Regions from separate parts of the Homo sapiens genome. Here all the other regions are linked to region 4. Evidence: promoter capture Hi-C in 16 types of primary human blood cells and fetal thymus (Javierre and others, 2016). All regions are on one chromosome and are shown on one strand. Each heading gives the region's core, a stretch centred on a gene start or on the middle of the fragment in contact. The rest is flanking DNA. Distances are from core to core; before and after follow the strand shown. Region 1 has its middle 2.8 kb from the start of TMEM260. Region 2 holds the start of PPM1A (protein phosphatase, Mg2+/Mn2+ dependent 1A). Region 3 overlaps TIMM9 (translocase of inner mitochondrial membrane 9). Region 4 holds the start of KLHL28 (kelch like family member 28). Region 5 holds the start of SPTSSA (serine palmitoyltransferase small subunit A).

What was found. The method cuts DNA at HindIII sites, captures the fragments that hold promoters and counts their contacts. A CHiCAGO score of 5 or more calls a contact.
Region 1: a contact is called between a fragment that was not itself captured here and the fragment with the promoter of KLHL28 in region 4, in 1 of 17 cell types (total CD4 T cells). The highest score is 6.0, in total CD4 T cells.
Region 2: the fragment with the promoter of PPM1A here is called in contact with the fragment with the promoter of KLHL28 in region 4 in 1 of 17 cell types (activated CD4 T cells); the score reaches 6.2 in activated CD4 T cells.
Region 3: a fragment that was not itself captured here is called in contact with the fragment with the promoter of KLHL28 in region 4 in 1 of 17 cell types (naive B cells); the score reaches 6.1 in naive B cells.
Region 5: a contact is called between the fragment with the promoter of SPTSSA here and the fragment with the promoter of KLHL28 in region 4, in 2 of 17 cell types (total B cells and naive B cells). The highest score is 7.7, in total B cells.

The regions. Positions count from the first base shown.
Region 1 is chr14:56,575,079-56,578,885 of GRCh38, forward strand. No RefSeq gene overlaps it. Among named protein-coding and RNA genes, the nearest start is that of TMEM260, 2.8 kb to the right of the region's middle. The HindIII fragment of the contact is 280 bases long and covers 2,212-2,491 here.
Region 2 is chr14:60,246,739-60,250,827 of GRCh38, forward strand. PPM1A (protein phosphatase, Mg2+/Mn2+ dependent 1A) reads left to right here and starts at 2,483. Exons shown (of 6, transcript NM_021003.5): 1 at 2,483-2,939. RefSeq lists enhancers at 1,037-1,286, 1,829-2,557, 1,867-1,916, 1,977-2,326 and silencers at 2,427-2,526, 2,727-3,466. The HindIII fragment of the contact is 6,782 bases long and covers 1-4,089 here.
Region 3 is chr14:58,410,706-58,414,726 of GRCh38, forward strand. It overlaps TIMM9 (translocase of inner mitochondrial membrane 9), which reads right to left. Exons shown (of 6, transcript NM_012460.4): 4 at 1,202-1,266; 5 at 138-233. The coding sequence starts at 1,240. It also overlaps a transcript of TOMM20L not described here. Among named protein-coding and RNA genes, the nearest start is that of TIMM9, 15 kb to the right of the region's middle. The HindIII fragment of the contact is 3,775 bases long and covers 1-3,545 here.
Region 4 is chr14:44,960,155-44,963,674 of GRCh38, forward strand. It overlaps KLHL28 (kelch like family member 28), which reads right to left and starts at 1,793. Exons shown (of 5, transcript NM_017658.5): 1 at 1,692-1,793. It overlaps TOGARAM1 (TOG array regulator of axonemal microtubules 1), which reads left to right and starts at 2,036. Exons shown (of 20, transcript NM_001308120.2): 1 at 2,036-3,520. The coding sequence starts at 2,268. RefSeq lists enhancers at 860-949, 1,464-1,978, 1,520-2,329, 1,979-2,493. The HindIII fragment of the contact is 5,188 bases long and covers 1-2,668 here.
Region 5 is chr14:34,460,589-34,464,101 of GRCh38, forward strand. SPTSSA (serine palmitoyltransferase small subunit A) reads right to left here and starts at 1,652. Exons shown (of 2, transcript NM_138288.4): 1 at 1,508-1,652. The coding sequence starts at 1,619. RefSeq lists enhancers at 865-974, 1,515-2,465 and silencers at 1,375-1,544, 1,665-2,174. The HindIII fragment of the contact is 5,560 bases long and covers 1-3,513 here.

The DNA.
Region 1 (3,807 bases), core at 1,102-3,601, about 12 Mb after region 4:
TAGGTGGAATGTCCACCTCTGCTCAGCAATAATGAGGAGCCATCTCCTTGGTTTCAACAGAAGCTAGATGCTGGCCATAAATCCCAGGAAGACTCCCAGAGCCAAATTTAGGGTACCATAGGGCCATGGATCTATGTATTTACTTTCCGTCAATCTGATGTTCTATATCTAATTGAGTGTTCCCTGGCCTCTGTGATGTTCTTCGAATGTGTCAACTTGGCTTGGCTACATTCCTCAGTTTTTCAATCAAACACGAATCTTGGTGTTGCTGTGATGGTATTTTGTAGATATGACTAAAGTTCATAATTAGTTGACTTTTTTTTTTTCTCCAAGCAGAGTCTTGCTCTGTCACCCAGGCTGGAGTGCAGTGGCATGATCTTGGCTTACTGCAGCCTCTGCCTCCCAGTTTCAAGCGATTCTCGTGCCTCAGCCTTTTGGGTAGCGGGAATTACAGGTAAACACCACCACACCTGGCTTTTTTTTTTTTTTTTTTTTTTTTTGTATTTTTAGTATTGATGGGGTTTTGCCATGTTGGCCAGGCTGGTCTCGAACTCCTGGCCTCAAGTGATTCTCCCACCTTAGCCTCCCAAAGTGCTGAGTTTACAGCCATGAGCCACCATGCCCAGCCTCATTTGTCTTCAAAACCGTGAGATTATCATAGTTAATCTGGTAGGCCTGATTCAATCAGTGGAAAGGCCTTAAGAGCAGGGATATGGGTCCCCTGATGAAGAAAAACTTCCAGCTGTGGACAACAGCTTTCTGCCATGCCCAGGAGTTCCAGTCTTCCCTTCCTGATGGCATGTGCTACGGGCTTCAGAGTTACTTAGCCAGCCCTCAAAATTACATTATACAATTCCTTGCAATAAATTGTATCATACATATCTCCTACTAGTTCTGTTTCTCTGGATGAATCCCAAATTATTTACATATTTTTCTGCTTTATGGTTTGTATTATAGTGGCTAACTCTAAGCCATCATAGAATGATGTAGAGCACAAACAATAAATCAATACTCGTTATATGTCTTATTGGTCTGTCTCAGGATCAAGTCCAACGATCACATGTTTACACATCATGTGTAAAGAGAGACATCATGAGGTCTCTCTCTTTATCTCTAACATTTTCTATCTTCAACCCTTCTCTTCTGTCCTCCTCAGTCCCATCCTCTCCAATAACCTGTACATCTTTACTTCATCACTATGTCTCTCCAAATACTCCCTTGAGTTACAAACAAAACAAGACATTCAAAAATCTTCATTTGACACTTCGATCCCTGTGAATTTTCATGCTATTTCTCTCTTTCCCTTCACTGCCAAACTTTTTGCAAATGTATTTTATTTTCATGTCTTCCATTTGCTCACTTCTTAGCCCACTAGTACCTTGTTTCTGTAGATACTACTCTACTGAAGCTGACCTCTTGAACTTTCAAGGTTCAAATACCTCCAGGTCACCAAATCCAACCATGCAGAGCCTGCTAGTTGCCCCTCAGTATCCATTCTCCCCTTCTTCCTTTGTAATAGAATTCTAGGCAAACTGTCCAGCTGAAAAGTCTATTTCGCAGCATCCTTTGCCCCTAGGAGTGACCTGTTATTCAATTTTGGCCAATTAGATATAGCAAAATTGTGGAATAGCATTTAAAAAAATAGTGCTTTTTTAAAAAAGCTGGAGCAGGCCTTTCTCTTCCCATCCTTTCTTTTTCTTCCTCAAGAACAGATGTAATGTCTGGAGCATTAGCAGCCACCTTGGATCAGTAGATGACCTTGAGAATGTGAGCTGAGTGGGATGGTGCAGAAAGATATGAGGACTTCAGCTGTGTCCCTAGTGGAATCAGGGAGTTGCCAAGCCAGTGGTAGACTGACTTCCTATAGACTTCTGACTTCTTTTATATAAGAGAATGATTGTTTTAATGTTTAAGACACTGTAGCAGGATCTGTCACTAGTAGCTAAATGCAATCCCTAACGGATATGCCAGTGATCTCTGATTGTTCATGTATTCATTTATTACATAAATATTTGTTTAGCACCAATTTTGTGCCAGGCATCATTTTAAATATGGTGGAAATTAGACAAAGTCCATCAGGTTTGACAGGCTATTTAGACATAGAAATGGAGAGGTCGGGGGCAGTTGGGTTTTTTAAAATAATCGGTCGCTAAAAAAGAGAAGCAGAGGAGGTCTAATTTTGAGAAATATTGCCCCATAGTTGCCCTTTAAAGCTTCAATATGATCATCTCGGGAAAGAAGACAGAAAGAGAGAAAAGTCTAGAACAGCCCAGGAATACTTCAGCATTTGGGGGACCGACAGAAGCAGAGCCAGGGCAGGGAGGCCATTGATAAAAGGAAAACCAAAGAGTGTGCTATCAATGAAGGCCAGAAAAGAAAATACTTCCGGGGAGGAAGGAATAGTCAGATGCTTACTGAGAGGTAGAGTCAGACATAAACAGAGAACTGGAAGTTCTTAATCTTCAAAGGAAAACAACCATGAAGCTAATGAAGCTTAGGCCTCACAGTTCCTCTCTAGCCCAGGTGTCTTCCAATATCTTGTGCCTAATTCTGTATCTGCAGTTTTATATCAGTTTACTTACATATAATTCTCCAAGTTTTATACACTTGAGCTTCACAAAATCTAGACGTGCCTCTCTTCATTGTCCTTTACCTCTCTGTAACATCCTGACCACATGTACTTCATCGACTTTTCTTCTTTAGCTTCTGGTGATGCCTCATTCTCTTACACTGTTCTCTCCCCTTCTCCAGCCATTCCCTAAATGAGAATATGGGCTGACATTAGACCTCAACCTTGTTCTCTCTACACTATCCCCTTATCAAGTTAGTCATTTATATCATCCTTACACGAGCAACTCCTAAATTTGTACTTCCAGCACTGATCTCTACCTCCCAAACATGGACAAAGAATTATTCCCCTCCAAAATAAAAAAATTTTAAATAAAACTCATGAGCAAAAGTGAAATGCATAAAAAGGGAAAGAAGTATATGCTTGACCCAGTCAAGGTTACTCATTGGCATGTTCTTTCAGCAAAGAAATAGAAGACAGCCTATCTTAACTATCTATTGCTGATAACTAACAAATTAGCCTGCATTTATCAACTTAAAACAACATTTATTATCTCGCGGTTTCTATAGGACAGCAGTCTGGATGAGGCTTAGTTAGGTCCTCTGCTTCAGGGTCATCCACAGGCTGCAATCCAAGTCTTGACAGGAGTTATAGTTATCTCAAGGCTTATGTGGGGGAAGGATCCACTTCCTAGCTCCCTCACATGGTGTTGCCTAGATTCAGTTCCTCTAAGGTTGTTGGACTGAAGGTCTCAGTTTCTTGCCAGCTGTTGGCTAGAGGCGGCTCTCAGTTTCTTCCCATGTGGACCTTTCCACAGGGCAGCCTACACCATGGTAGGTGGCTTCATCAGAGAGAACAAGTGAGAGGACAAGAGGGAGTGCCAGCAAGATGAAAGTTAGTCTTTCATAACCTAATCTTGAAAGTGACATCCATCACTTTTGCCTTATTGTATTGATAGAAGCCAATCCTTAGGTTAAGCTCACACATAAGGCGAGCAGCTTATACAGGAAGTGAGTGAGGAGGCAGGGTTATCTGGGAATCCATTTTAGAAGCACTCTACCACACAGCCCCTCTCCTCCAGGAACTCACAGTACAGCTGAGAAATTACCTGGAAAAGGCTGGAAATTGTATAAGTACCTGGAAAAGACTAAGGTGTGCTGGCCCCATGACCGTCAAGGTAGGTATATGTTACTCTATAGTTTAGTCACTGTGTCTCTATCAAATTGCGCGTAACACGT
Region 2 (4,089 bases), core at 1,233-3,732, about 15 Mb after region 4:
TATTAATCTTATAACCCATGAGTTTCCTAGTTCATACCAAAATGTCCCTGCAAGCTGTATTCAGAAATAAATAGTAGGAAGGTGCTGCTTTATCGGCAGTCTGTACAATGCGTAGACTCCTTAAAAATTTCTTTCTGTTCATATTTTCTATTTCTCTCCCTCTTCTTCTACAATTGACCCAGATTCTCCAAGTGCAGAACAGAGAGAAGAAAGGTGTGGAAGCCTAAAGGAAGGAAGCAGAAAGATAGGCAGGCATTTCAAGTTTTCTATGGTCCACTACCGTCACTAGTGACCCAGCTTCTGCTTATAAATAAGAAAATTTGTCTTTTAAGAGCACTCTAAATGGTTGCCATATGAGCTTTTGTAGTTCAGAATGTTAATGAGTCCACCAGCATGCTACTCATGCTGTTACTTGCCTGGAGTATTAAGGATTCCAAGAAGGTAGCGTTTCAAAGATCTCTGATCTAATTTCTTTTTTTGGGGGGTCGGGGAGATATGTGGAGAATTAGGAAATGTATCCTCAGATGATACTGAGACCAAATGCATAGTGAATTTTATTTTTATTTTGTATATGTGGAAATGATCCACGATCATCTTCTAAGGAATTCTGGCCGGGAACAGTGGCTCACGACTGTAATCCCAGCACTTTGGGAGGCCGAGGAGGGTGGATCACGAGGTCAGGAAACCGAGACCATCCTGGCCAACACGGTGAAACCCTGTCTGAACTAAAAATACAAAAAAATTAGCCAGGCGTGGTGGCAGGCGCCTGTAGTCCCAGCTACTCGGGAGGCTGAGGCAGGAGAATGGCATGAACCCGGGAGGCGGAGCTTGCAGTGAGCCGAGATTGTGCCACTGTACTAGCCTGGATGAAAGAGCGAGACTCTGTCTCAAAAAAAAAAAAAAAAAAAAAAAAAAAAGTGAAGGAAACAGAACCTTCCCCAAAGTCATGTTGAGAAAATTAGAGATGGCTTTTTACAACTTTAAAAGCAGCAGCTAAATATTTGCTGAATGCCAGAAAGAATAAATAGGTTGCTTTTGATCTAAGAGTTGGGGCAACAAAATGGTTTAGGAGATAGAAAGTAGTAGGGTGCAAATTGCTATAGTGAGCTCCTCAAGTAAAATAGAGAGGCCTTCAACATAAATTTACCTTTTTTACTGGCCAGAACTCAATTTGGCCAGTAAAAGAACCTGCCTTCTACAATGAAGTCTTTGGTTTGTGTGTGCATCAGAACATCTTTTAAAAATACGGACTTTTCTTCTAACTTCTTTTCCTGCGAATGTGGTGTAGGTCAAATTCGTGAACTGGTTAAGCCGCTGACAAGAGAGGGAAGGGCACCCCAGCCAATGGGAACCCGTGCTGGTGATGTACTGCTCCTAGGCTGCGATTCATTGGCTGCCTAGGGTTTGTCATTCTATCCCCGGCGTCTGCAAGCAGCGTGGGTCGGGTTTTCCAGCTAGCTAAACTGGATTTTGGCCGCTGGCACGTGCAGTTTCTATTAACTTTAGCTCATCTCTACCTCTTAATAGAAGCAGCTGTTATGTTTCTGATTATTCTCCTGATTTTGAAAAATCCTGTTCCCTTAACCTACCTCATTGGAGGTCGTTGGAGGTCCCCTGGGACAGAACCACGTGATTATCTAACATGTGCAAATAAATACAATGTGGAATCCCCTGAACTATAGAGGGAAAACCTGCCAGAAACTCAGAGCATGTGCCCCGTGCGTGAATCAGTTGCACTCGCACATTGGTGGGCGGTGGTAGCGTGCTTGTGTCTCTGCCCTTTGGGTCGCGAGGTGTGTGGCCGTGGCACCTGCTTGGGCTTCCTGGGGTCACTGGGAGAGGAAGGCTCTGGAGGAGTGGGACTCTGGGGTAGGGGGGTCTGGCAGCTGCCTGGGACCCACCATGGGTTCGAAGGGCAGCGGCCAGACCGCGACGGCGCCCAAGAAGGGTGGACAGCTTCGGGTCTGTGCTCGGGGCTGCGTGTACACCATCTTCGCAGGGAGTGGGGTTTGTATCTGCAGGCAGGTAGAAGAGCCAGGGCTCCGGGCGCGGACGCCGTAGGGGTAGCTTCCGAGTCCCTACTTGGCCAAGGGCCGGCACGGAGGGGCTGTCGATCTACTGGGCACCTAATAGCCGCACATTCTGTCCAGTCCCTGGCGCCGGAACGTGAAGGCCCGGGTCCTGGCTGCTATCCGGGATCCGGACGCTCCCTTCGGCTTCGGCCTGGTGCTCCAGGCCGTAAGGCAAAGGCGGCGGCAGCAGCAGCGGCAGAGAAAGAAGCTGGGTAAGGCAGTGACGTCATCTGTGGCGGCCCCTCCCCCGCCCGCCAGCCCTCACCGCAGTTCCTGCCCAACGACATCCGGGTCTCTGTAGCTGCGCGCCGCGCCGCAGCTGTAGCGGCGGCGGAGCCAGCGGGGCGGGGCGAGCGGAGGGGTGGGGGAGGGGCGACGCGGTCGTGAGCGCGCCTGCGCGGGGCCGCGCTAGAGGCGGCGGCGGCGGCGGTGGCGGCGCTAGGGACGGGAGCGCGCGCGGGAGCTAGAGAGCAGTGGTCTCGGCGCTCGTCCGGCCCGCAGCTTCGGGTCCTCAGGCGGCTGTTGCTCCGGAACGGGTGGTTGGGGAGGGGGGGGTGGGGGGACTCTAGACAGCTGAGGCGCGAAAGCGATGAGTCCTCGGCTCTTCCTCCTCCTTCTCCGGGACCCGCTCTCTGCCTCCCTCTCCAACGCCCGGATGATCTGAGCCGCGAGGGCGCCGACAGCCGGGGGCCCGGACGCAGCCCGGCTCCTCCCCTCCTCCGCCCCTTCCCCAGCCTGACCTGGCCCGCCGCTGCAGCGGTGACCCCTCCCCCGGCTGCCGCCGTCGCCGCCGCGGTGACCCCCTCCCCGGCTGCCGCCGCCGCCGCCTCGGCCGACCAGGGACCTGCCCGCCTGCGGCTGCTCCGGGTAAGTGCGGCGCTCGGGCCGACGGCGGGCTGGCGGGCGGTGCGGGCCTGCGCGGCGGCGGCGGCGGGCAGGCCTGGGGCCTGTAAACAAGCCGGGCGTCTGCCCGGGCGCTCCCGGGAGGAGACGCGACAACTCCACCCCCTGGCCGGCCTCCTCCCCCGAGCCGGGCGGCGGACGGCGAGGGGTTAACGCTCGGCGAGGGCGGTGGCGGGGAGGCGGGGGCGGGGTGTTAGTTGCGGTGGCGCGGGGAGGGGGCGCGACCCTCTGGCCGTCCGCGGCCGAGATGGGTGTTTGTGGCGGCGAAGCAGGCGACGGCCGCAGGCCGGCCTGGCCGGAGAGCGGCCTGCAGAACTTTTCCCGAGCGGGGAGGGGGCGTCCCCGCGCCCCCACCCGCTCGGGCGCGCCGCCCCGGCTGTCCTGGGCTTCAGCCCCTGGGAGGGAGGCGGGGAGACTTCCTTTGAACCGGGCTTAGCCTCGAAAAACCTAATTCTGTAGAAATTGCTTAAGGTTTTACAGGGGGCAGGGCTGAGAGACTCCTTCAGAACTCAAGTCAGTGAGTGATGCCTCTAGTTCATTCATTATTAAGGCATCGAACAAATCCATTGAAGTAAATTCCGATTTCTTATCCTTTTAACTACGTAAATCGGGTAAAACTTCTTGATGTTAGAGCTTGGTTGAGGTATGGTTCTGTTCTGCTTGTAGATTTTAAATAAACTTGGAGCCTTTTCTTGAAAGACAGCTGGCTGTGGAGAGCCTTCTACCAACTGCAGTTTTAGATACGTTTTGAAAATTTCATCACCTGAGGTATTTTTCTTCTCTCCTGAAACACCACATGGTACAAATCCACAAAAGTCATGCTTCAGTTGTCCAAGCCATGGGATCTGTGTGCTAGCCCCACCTCCCCGCAAGTTTCCTGCTCATTGGAATAATGAGCTGAATGTGTTTTAAGAAGTGGTTGGAAGAGTATGAGAGATAGGTATCATTTTCTCAAAGGAAATGATTTTGACATTATTGAGAGAAATTAGACATTTTAACAATTGTTTTGTAAAACAGTCTTTTCAAACTTGCACGTTGGGGTTTTAAACACAACCACTTTACATGTGTTGCGCTCCGAAAAGTGGAGGGATTTGTTGAAACACTACTCTGCTGA
Region 3 (4,021 bases), core at 408-2,907, about 13 Mb after region 4:
CAGTTCTTCCAAGCAATGGAACATAAAAGGTAGTCTAAATTCCTGTAATAAGTAGGAACAAGTGAAATGCTTAAGGGGATCCTACTTAGAGTGTTTATGAAGGCTTGTAGAATTTTAGTGAGTAACACTTTTCATACCTCTTCAGGTTTTACTTCTCTTGTTGTGAAGTCTTTAACACAGTCCAAAAAGCAGGTCTCTGTAAGTTTATTGTAGGTCCCCAGAAATTCCTTAAACTACAAACAAACCAGAATGTTCTTTAGTATTTGGTTTTTAAAACAAAGATGCTTTGAAACTTAAATTACTGGTATTTTATATTTAGACAAAATATACTATAACACTTGAAATCATAGTTATTATGCTAACTTAAATGGGTACAGTATGATCTACAGAATAGTTTTATTTTCTAGTTGAATATTTAATTTTTCCTTGATTATCAGTCAGATTAAAAATACATATGCTTGGCCGGGTGCGGTAGCTCATGCCTGTAATCCCAGCACTTTGGGAGGCCGAGGTGGGCGGATTACCTGAGGTCAGGAGTTCGAGACCAGCCTGGCCAACATGGTGAAACCCTGTCTCTAATAAAAATACAAAAATTAGCCAGGCGTGGTGGCGCATGCCTGTAATCCCAGCTACTCAGGAGGCTGAGGCAGGAGAATTGCTTGGGCCCGGGAGATGGAGGTTGCAGTGAACCAAGATCGTGCCACTGCACTCCAGCCTGGCCGACAAAGAGAGACTGTGTCCAAAAAAAAAAAGAACAAGAAAAATACGTACACTTTATAACATTTAATATCCATTTTGGAAATGAAATAGAAACAATTGTTTTGTGAAACCACTGACATGGTTTTTTTTTTTGAGATGGAGTCTTGCTCTGTCACCCAGGCTGGAGTGCAATGCCACGATCTCGGCTCACTGCAGCCTCTGCTTCCTGGGTCAAGCAATTCCTGTGCCTCAGCCTCCCACGTAGCTGGGACTAGAGGTGTGCGCCAGCACGCCCAGCTAATTTTTGTATTTTTAGGAGACGGAGTTTCACCATGTTGGCCAGGCTGGTCTTGAACTCCTGACTTCATGTGATCCACCCACCTGGGCCTCCCAACGTGCTGGGATTACAGATGTGAGCCACTGCACCCAGCCTGACATGGTGGCATTAGTAGCACCTTACATTTTTTTGCAAAATCTTTTCCCCTTAATTAGAATACCTTACCTGTTTTATCTGATCAGATTCTGGTATTTGTGCAGCCATATTCTTCTGGTACCTTTATTAGTCACCTAATTTAAAAATTCAAAACAAGTTTGTCAATCTATAAACAAATGTTTTTAGTCTAACTGAAGAGTTAGGGAATCACTGCTCGTATTTTATAAATCTGTGTATGTAATTGTATGCCACCACCCCCAATTTCTCAGATCATTAATGACCATAGAACCTTACAGTTGAGAATTAGATTTTCTTTTTTTTTTTGAGACGGAGTCTCACTCTGTCACCAGGCTGGAGCGCAGTGGCGCCATCTTGGCTCACTGCAACCTCTGCCTCCGGGTTCAAGCAATTCTCCTGCCTCAGCCTCCTGAGTAGCTAGGACTACAGGCACACACCACCATGCCCAGCTAATTTTTGTATTTTTAGTAGAGATGGGGTTTCACCATGTTGGCAAGGATGGTCTCGATCTCTTAACCTCATGATCCGCCTGCCTCGGCTTCCCAAAGTGCTGGGATTACAGGCGTTAGCCGCCGTGCCCGGCCAGAGAATTAGATTTTCTAATGCTAGTTTGGGACTCAAAGGCCCTGTCTATCAAAATCTCCAGTTTTAAGATAGTTTGCTCTGCTACCTTGCTAAGCTGCTTGTTTAAAGCCCCATTCCTAGGAGGGTTATAAAGGAAACCAAGATGGTGAAGTTTGGGCTTAAAAAAATAATTAAAAAAAGCTGGGTGTGGTGGCTCATGCCTGTAATCCCAGCACTTTGGGAGGCCAAGACATGTGGATCACTTGAGGTCAGGAGTTCAAAACCAGCCTGGCCAACATAGTGAAACCCTATCTCTACAAAAAATACAAAAATTGGCCAGACGTGGTGTCATGTGCCTGTGGTCCCAGCTACTTGGGAAGCTGAGGCAGGAGAATCGCTTGAACTCAGGACGTTGAGGTTACAGTGAGCCAAGATCACACCACTGCACTCCAGCCTGGGTGACAAAGTGAGACTCCATCTCAAATAATAATAATAATAATGATAATAAAAAGAAAAATAAAGGAAATCAAGAGATTTTTGCTGTTTTCCTAAAATTACTTAACTATTCCACTAGTCACCAAATTGCTTATTTTAAATTTTTTACTATTATACTCAGTCGAATACATCAAAAATATCAAAGATTTTAACATTTCAACATACAATCACATAAAAAGTATTAATAAGACATTTTACGTTCCTTTTCTGGTAGTAAGTCTTTGATTTTGGTGAGCATTTTACACTTACACCACATCTCAATTTGAATGCTAAATTTTCATCAGAAATACTTGGCCTATATTTAGATTTAATAAAATCTATTGTTGAAAAAGTAGATTCATATATCTGAGCCACTCCAAATACACTTAAAATTAGTTGCTAATTTAACTCTGACCCTTACTACTAATGATCCTTTTACAATGTAAATACAAAGGTTCTATTAATAGTTAACAAACACCAGTTAACAAACACCATTTGCTTAGAAATTGACAACCCTCATGAAGGATATTCAGAGTTTTAAAAGAAAGTTACAGGAATTATACATTCTACTACACATTCTCTAGTTCAAAAAGGGCAATCACAGAGACTAATCAGAGACTTCTAATTATAATCTAACGTGGCGGCAACAGGGAAGGGAAGACAAGTAAATAAAAAAGCCTTTCTGAATTCCTGAGATTTTCACATATCCTAAATGTAGGACTTAGGTTCAGTTAATCTAGATATAAGAATGTGTATAACATTATTTATTTACTATATCCTGGCTAGTTCTAAAAAGGTTGAGCATTTCATATAAAAGATTTGTATTTGTATAGGCTGGGCGTGGTGGCTCACGCCTGTAATCCCAGCACTTTGGGAGGCTGAGGCGGGCAGATTACGAGGTCAGGAGATCGAGACCATCCTGGCTAACACAGTGAAACCCCGTCTTTACTAAAAATACAAAAAATTAGCTGGGCGTGGTGGTGGGCGCCTGGAGTCCTAGCTACTTGGGAGGCTGAGGCAGAAGAATGGCGTGAACCCGGGAGGTGGAGCTTGCAGTGAGCCGAGATTGCACCACTGCACTCCGGCCTGGGTGACAGAGTGAGATTCCGTCTCAGAAAAAAAAAAAAAAAAAAAAAAAAAAAAGGTTTGTATAAAATAAAGCTGTTTGAAACAGAAATTAAACAGCATGTAAAAGGAAAACATGAATCATGTACACTGTAGACTAACATAAATGCTATACATTTTATTTAGTTAAGAGTTTTCTGATAACCAAAACAAAAATGATAAACTGGATGTGCAAATTTTTATTAGCTTATCAATTATTAAAGTATCTCTGGAAAACATAAATTCTTTATGAAGCTTTGTTGAAACTAATTTTTATGAAGTTCGTTGAAACTAGTAGTAAATTCAAGTTTAGGACAAAGTGTATGCCACCATCACAAAAAAAAATTAACATTCTGCTTTTGATTAACACATACAATCAACAGTAATTCCATTCCACCAGTCTCAACCATACCTATACTTTCCTCCTTTTTTCTTATCCTATAAAATCACAATAACTAGGCTGGGCACGGTGGCTCACACTTGTAATCCCAGCACTTTGGGAGGCTGAGGCAGGTGGATCACCTGAGGTCAAGAGTTGGAGACAAGCCTGGACAGCATAGTGAAACCGCATCTCTACTGAAAATACAAAAATTAGCCGGGCATGGTGGCTTATGCCTGTAATCCCAGCTACTCAGGAGGCTGAGGCAGGAGAACTGCTTGACCCCTTGGGCGGAGGTTGCAGTGAGCCGAGATTGCAGCACTGTACTCCAGCCTGCACCGCATAGTGAG
Region 4 (3,520 bases), core at 543-3,042:
ACAAGAATCAAAAGGAAGACTCATCTTGCTTTGTTCCCAGGAAAAGGGCATGATAACTGCTTAAGTATCCACGTCTCTCATTTAAGACTTTCGAAGTTCCTTTTCTGTGATTCCATGATTACCACACAACCTCTAGTTATTAACTTGGCTTCCCAAGTTCTTGGATACAAGAAAGAGTGCACTGGATTTTCAACTTGAAAATTCTGATCCAACATAAACTGGCACTGTAATGTGTACATCATTGTCTAGGTTAGTTTGAACTGGGTTCCTCAAGTCTGGGCAATACATGACTAGAAGTCTACACATTTGAGCTTCTTAGGTTGGAACTGTGAGAACCAGACACTTTCTCATTGACAACTGCTACAATCATTTCTTGTTTTTCACCTCCCTGTCTTTAACCTGTCCCTAAAATGAAACATGCTAGCTAAACCTAATTTAGGCAGATTCATTTAAACACGAAAATGGCTCATTAAAACCAAAGTAACAGCCTAGAATTTAAACCAAAACATAGGATGTATATTTACACAGCCTCATTTACATTATAGTCTATTCCCCACCCCCACCCCCCCAAAAACAAAACAAAACAAAACTGATATTCAAATCGTACTTTAAGGCAAAAATCCAGAAATTATTTTTGCACTTGCATCAGCTGGGAGCATTATTTATAAAGCTGTTTGGCATATGTGACTCATTTATTCCAAGACTTTAAAAAGTATTTAAGAGAAATCCCACCTGGTACAGAGCAGGGTAGGAATACTTGCATTTGAAGTGCATAAATTTGGGTCTTCAAATGATAACTTAGACTTTTCGCACGAGTCATTCAAAAGTAATAGTATTATTCCTTCAAAAAAAAAAAATATCTCTTCCACACTCCAAAGCATTCAGGCTCACACTAGACACTCCAGCTCTTCCACTGTGTCCGTTTAAGTATCACTTATGAGGAGAAAATGCACACAAAATTCTCAGTTCGCCTAAAATAAATAAATGTCTACTATCATTCCTAAATCCACAAGGCAGAATTCTCTTAGAACCATGATGCCAAGAACTTCCACCGCAAGTGAAATTGTCTTCGCAATCTCTGTCTCTAGGAGACTGAAAGGCTGCAGAGACGCTTGAGGATCCTGCAGGGAGGCTAGGGCGGCAGACGGAGGGGGCGGAGGTTAGGGGAGAGTCCCACAGAGGAACTGCATTAGAAGGAAAGATTTTGATAACGTCTAAGGGAGAGGCGGTTAGCTACAGGGGGAAAAAAACAGACCTATTTCCATATTATGTACGTTGTAAAGAAAACGCAAAGTGATGAGGGTAAGGAAACGTTGCCAAAAACAAACAAACAAAAACAAAAAAAAATTAACCCTCTGCGGCCGGAGGGTTAAGAGAAGTCGACAAAAGGAGAAGGGGGAGGCGAATAAAGGCCCCAAAGACCAGGAATTGAAAAAAAATACCCGATTTGTGAGCTTGGCCGTGGTCCAGATCTTCTGTCCTGATAAGCAGATGGCAAGAGGAAAGGATCGCAGTTACTCAGGGTGGTAGAGAGTAACGCGTTTACAAGGGTGACGAGCCCTGCACAAGAAGATGTCGCCTCTCTTTCCACCTGCTCCGCTCAGTCCTTTGCCTCTTACTCTAGCACCAGTGGCATTCGGGCAAAACACTGCCAAAGCCTGCACCGCTGGAGGACAGCAAAAGGAAAATACCTGAGTCTCAGTAATCACACGGGCAGCGACAGGAGGAGGAACCGCGGACAACTGGAGCCTGGGCTGGATCCTCACTAGCTCCGGTCAAACCCTAACTCTTACGGGTGGGGCGGGCAACTTCCGCCCAGAGCAAGGAAAGCGTCACATCCGTCAAATGGCTTCACCCCTCCTCCCTTCTCCGCTGTAGCTGCGTTTACAACGTTCTGACTTCCTCTTCCAGGAGACTTTGGCCTAGTCTCAACACCTGACGTGGACTACATAACCCAGCATTCATCACGGCAAGTGGATTTCCGGGTCAAGAGGTCCGCGCTGGGTACATCACCATGGAAGCAATCGGTTTGGTCACGTGGTGCCCTTGGTTACGCCCGGTGGCAGCTGTGGGGTCTAGGGCTCAGACGGGGGCCATTTTGCCAGAGGCTGCCTCCCGGAGTTGGGGGCGGCCTGGCGGCAGGCTGAAGCTGTTCTTTTGCCTCTTCTGCAGCTTGGGGCTTGGAGAGGATCTGGAAGTCTGGGCTCCATCGAGCCCTTTGGAGACGGCAATGGTTTCTTCCAACCACCACCACCTGACAACCCTGCATGGCGGCTGCCCCCTCCGCGCTGCTTCTGCTGCCGCCCTTTCCAGTCCTCTCTACCTATCGGCTCCAGAGCCGCAGTCGTCCTTCCGCCCCAGAGACCGATGATAGTCGAGTTGGGGGCATTATGAGAGGAGAGAAAAACTACTACTTCCGTGGAGCTGCGGGGGACCACGGTTCCTGCCCCACTACAACTTCGCCTCTGGCCTCGGCCCTCTTGATGCCCTCGGAGGCAGTCTCAAGCAGCTGGTCTGAGTCTGGAGGCGGTTTGTCAGGGGGAGATGAAGAGGACACTCGGCTCCTTCAACTCCTCCGCACTGCCCGGGATCCTTCTGAGGCCTTCCAGGCTTTGCAAGCTGCTTTGCCGCGGCGGGGCGGTCGACTTGGCTTCCCCCGACGCAAGGAAGCTTTGTATCGGGCACTGGGCCGAGTGCTTGTGGAAGGAGGTAGTGATGAGAAGCGGCTCTGCTTGCAACTTCTCTCGGACGTTCTCCGGGGTCAGGGGGAGGCAGGCCAGCTTGAAGAGGCCTTTAGCTTAGCACTTTTGCCTCAACTAGTTGTCTCGTTACGGGAAGAGAATCCAGCCCTGCGGAAAGATGCGCTGCAGATCCTTCATATATGTCTGAAACGTAGTCCTGGAGAGGTGCTGAGAACGCTTATACAACAAGGACTGGAAAGTACCGATGCCCGACTTAGAGCTTCCACAGCACTACTGCTTCCCATCTTGCTTACTACTGAGGACTTGTTGCTTGGTCTGGATCTCACCGAGGTGATAATATCCCTAGCCCGAAAGCTTGGTGATCAGGAGACAGAAGAAGAATCTGAGACAGCTTTCTCCGCACTTCAACAAATTGGGGAGCGACTTGGCCAAGACAGGTTTCAATCTTACATTTCTCGTCTGCCCTCTGCCCTGAGGAGACACTACAATCGCCGCCTGGAGTCCCAGTTTGGAAGTCAGGTTCCTTATTATTTGGAACTTGAAGCCTCTGGATTTCCTGAAGATCCCCTTCCCTGTGCAGTGACTCTTTCCAACAGCAATCTTAAATTTGGGATTATTCCTCAGGAGCTGCATTCACGATTATTGGATCAGGAAGACTATAAGAACCGGACCCAGGCCGTCGAAGAACTAAAGCAGGTGCTGGGAAAATTTAACCCTAGTTCTACTCCTCATTCTAGTCTTGTTGGCTTCATTAGTTTGCTATATAATTTGTTAGACGATTCTAACTTCAAAGTGGTGCATGGCACACTTGAAGTCCT
Region 5 (3,513 bases), core at 402-2,901, about 10 Mb before region 4:
TCTATACTAGATTCTAATAGTGCACTCTACATTCAACCTCTGATTTAAAGAGTTTCATTTTAACCCAGCATTGTTTAAATTAATTTTAGGATGTGTTATGTCAGTCAAGATATACTTGCTTCTACTGAGAGACTTCTATTAAATATGCATTCAAGTATATATTTTACAAGGCATGACCTTGCGAGCCCTAAAGAGTGAGACTAAACTGCAGCTACAAATAAATGGTGCAGGAAATCAAAGCAAACTATATTCAGAGTCTAAATCCAAAATATGCATTCTGGTTCTTAAATTCCAGGTTTGGAAAGAAATGCCAACAGTAATAAATAAATAAACTGCTTTGAAAGCATCTCAAATTCCTCAAAAGTGCTTAAACAAAAGACTCAGCTTTGAGTACAACCTTAAGCTATCTCAAAACAAATAAACACACTTGATAAGGCTTAGAATGAAATTACCTCAGTCACTCACTGGAATGCAACAATGCATTCGCAAAGTTATTCTGAAGTAAGCTACTCCAACTAAACCACACTGAAAAGGAGAGAACGTGGATAAACTAAACATGTTTTGTGAAATACCTGTTTTGTATTGGCCTGAGTTTTTTAAAAGTTACATCTCATTCATTATCAGTATTTAATCTGCAAGAATATCATCAAAGGATGTCAATATGGACAAGCAGAGACAAGAAACATCAGACTTTCAGGGAGCCTATCTTCACAACCCTGAGTTATTAACTGAAGTTCTCAAAGTTAGATGAGTTAAGATACAGACAACGTGCTTTGCACAAATGCTTTGCTTATAGTAACCACTCAATAGTCATTAACAAGAATTTATTAACTATCCACCAAAACACAGTTTCAAACCCTACCGACAACTAACCACAAATTGCACCACTTTTCGGGCCGACTTCTACGGACGGTGCACAGAAGCAATAAATACACTTTTAAAACTCCCCAACTTGAAGACCAAAAAGATACAATAACTTAAACTGCTTTCAAAAACTACTGGAGTGTCATGCCTACAAATTCAGAACCTGGCTTAAAAGCTAGTTAACTGACTAGAATTCTTGGTAGACCCAAAGCCAACTAAATCAGGAACACTTAAAGGTCAAAGGCGTCCAAGCCGGGAGCGATGTGCTCCACTGTTACATGATCCCCGCCTCCTACAGGAACAGGGGACTGAACCAAAGGCAGTTGCGGCCGAAGTGCAGGCGACACACAGGGTTACACATCACCTTCGGAGATTTCCTCCAGGAATCAAGACGCTTCCCCCTTGGGTCCAGCGACTCACAGGTGACCCCGGATCTCAAGAGTTCTCGTCTCCCCCACCCCCCACTTAACCCCGCGAGCGCCGCCCTCGGCCCCCAGACCTCCCCCTGCACCCCCGGCTTCCGCGCACAGGACCGGCGGGGCCGCCGCTCCAGCCTCCACCCCAGGCCCGGGGCCTGGGGAAATGCGGCCCCGCGGCCCGCGCCCCCAGCCCGGCCCCCGCGCGCGCGGCCGGGACAGGATACTGAACACCGTCCGCTCCCAGGGCTCCAGCATGTAGAGCGCCGTGACCAGCAGGTACTGGTAGTAGAACCAGGACATCTGCTTCCAGGCCCGCGCCAGCGCCATCCCCGCCATGCGCCTCCCGCGATGCAGCTCACACGTCAGTCTGTCCGGCCGGCCGCCCGCTCACGTCCTAAAGCCCCCGGCCGCCAGGCCCGCCCGCCCGCCACCCAGCGCCCATTGGCCCGCCCGGCCCCGCCGTCACCCGCGGCACGCCCAGACCCGCGCGCGCCCCGGCCGCCGGCCCCCAGCCCCGCCCGACCCGCGCTCATTGGCCAGGCCGCTACCTCGCGTCGCGTCGTCCCCTCCCGTTTCCCCGCCCGGGCATCGCCCACGCTAGCCGGAGAACGGTCCCCGCGAGAGCGCCCAGCCGCGCCCCACCCCGCCCGGGCCGGCCGGTGGTGGGCGGGGCGTCAGTGCCGGCCGGGGTCCCGGGGCCCCCGCAGCCCAGCGGGCGCTCGGTCCGTCCAGACTGGCCCAGAGCGCTTGCGGAAGAAATATTTCTGGAACACTTGTTATGCCTCAGGCATCCTTCTGAGAAGGAGGATTGCCAGGGAGAACCGGAATGCCTTCGGTTCCTTACCTTGTGCAGCTGGCGGCCTAGCTGGGAGACAAGCATTAATCAAGTCGTGATCCGTGTAAGAGGAGATAAGGGGCTGAGAGAGGGTGAGGAGGCGAACGCCACCTAATAAGGAGGTCTGGAAAGGCGTCCTTGTAGAAGGGATGCACATTCGGCCTCCTTCCTCCCTTCCCCCACCCATGCACACACACACACACACACACACACACACACACACACACACACACACCCCTAGACGGACATAACCCATGCACTCCCTAACCCAGAGACCACTTACCAAAAACATCTATCTGCCCACCTCTTAGTGGCTGTAGGTAACCACCAAGTGGGTCAAGGCCAGAAGCGCGCTGATCTAGTGGGTTCTGCAGAAGACAGGCAGCTTGAGATTGGTGTGAGGGCTGGTGATACTTCCCTAGAGATGCACTCCTGGATGCCCAGATTTTCCCACTGCCAGATGGGCCAGCAACATTGCACTGGCCACAAGGAGCTCCATGCACTGGTGTAGCATGTGAACTGCCACAATTAAATGGCCTGCTGTTTAAATGTTAAAAGTCTTCCAGGTTAAACATACTACTGCTTAAACTTTAAAAGTTTCATGGTTAATAACTATTCATTAAAAGTACCAAGTGCCGGCCAAGCGCCGTAGCTCATGCCTGTAATCCAAGCACTTTGGGAGGCTGAGGCTGGCGGATCACTTGAGTCCAGAAGGTCGAGACCAGCCTGAGCAACATGGTGAAACCCCGTCTCTACCAAAAAAAATAAGTAAATACATAACAAAAAGTTAGCCAGGGGTGGTGGCGTGCACCTGTAGTCCCAGCTACTCAGGAGGTTGAGGCGGGAGGATTGCTCGAGCACGGGAGGTCGAGGTTGCAGTGAGCCAGGATGGTGCCACTGCACTCCATCTTAGGTGGCAGAGCAAAAGAAAGGAAAGAAAGGAGACAGAGAAAGAGAGGAGAAAACAGAAGAGAAGAGAAGAAAAGAAAGAAAACAGTAAGTAATATCAAGTGCCAGACATTGGGATAGCAAGCCAGATAGACTGAGACCTGCCTTCATAAAGTACCCAGTCTGCTGGGGAAGAGAGGCAAGTTAATGGATTACAGTGAGGTGTGGTAAATGATATTTTTGTGGATCGTATCCTTTAGGATACCAAGATAGCCCAGACAAAATCAGATTGGGCTTGTGAAAGTCTTCTGAGAAATGGTGCTTGAACTGAGTGTTGAAGGACAAGCAGAAATGGAAGAATGAATGAGCTTGGGGAAGAGAGGGTGAGACAGACATTCTAAGGATGAAGTTGTGATGTTTTTAGAAGACTGGAAGAACTTCCATGTGGCTGGAGCAAAAAGAATGTATATGCAGTAGCAAGAGATGGGCCTAGACAGCAAACAGGGA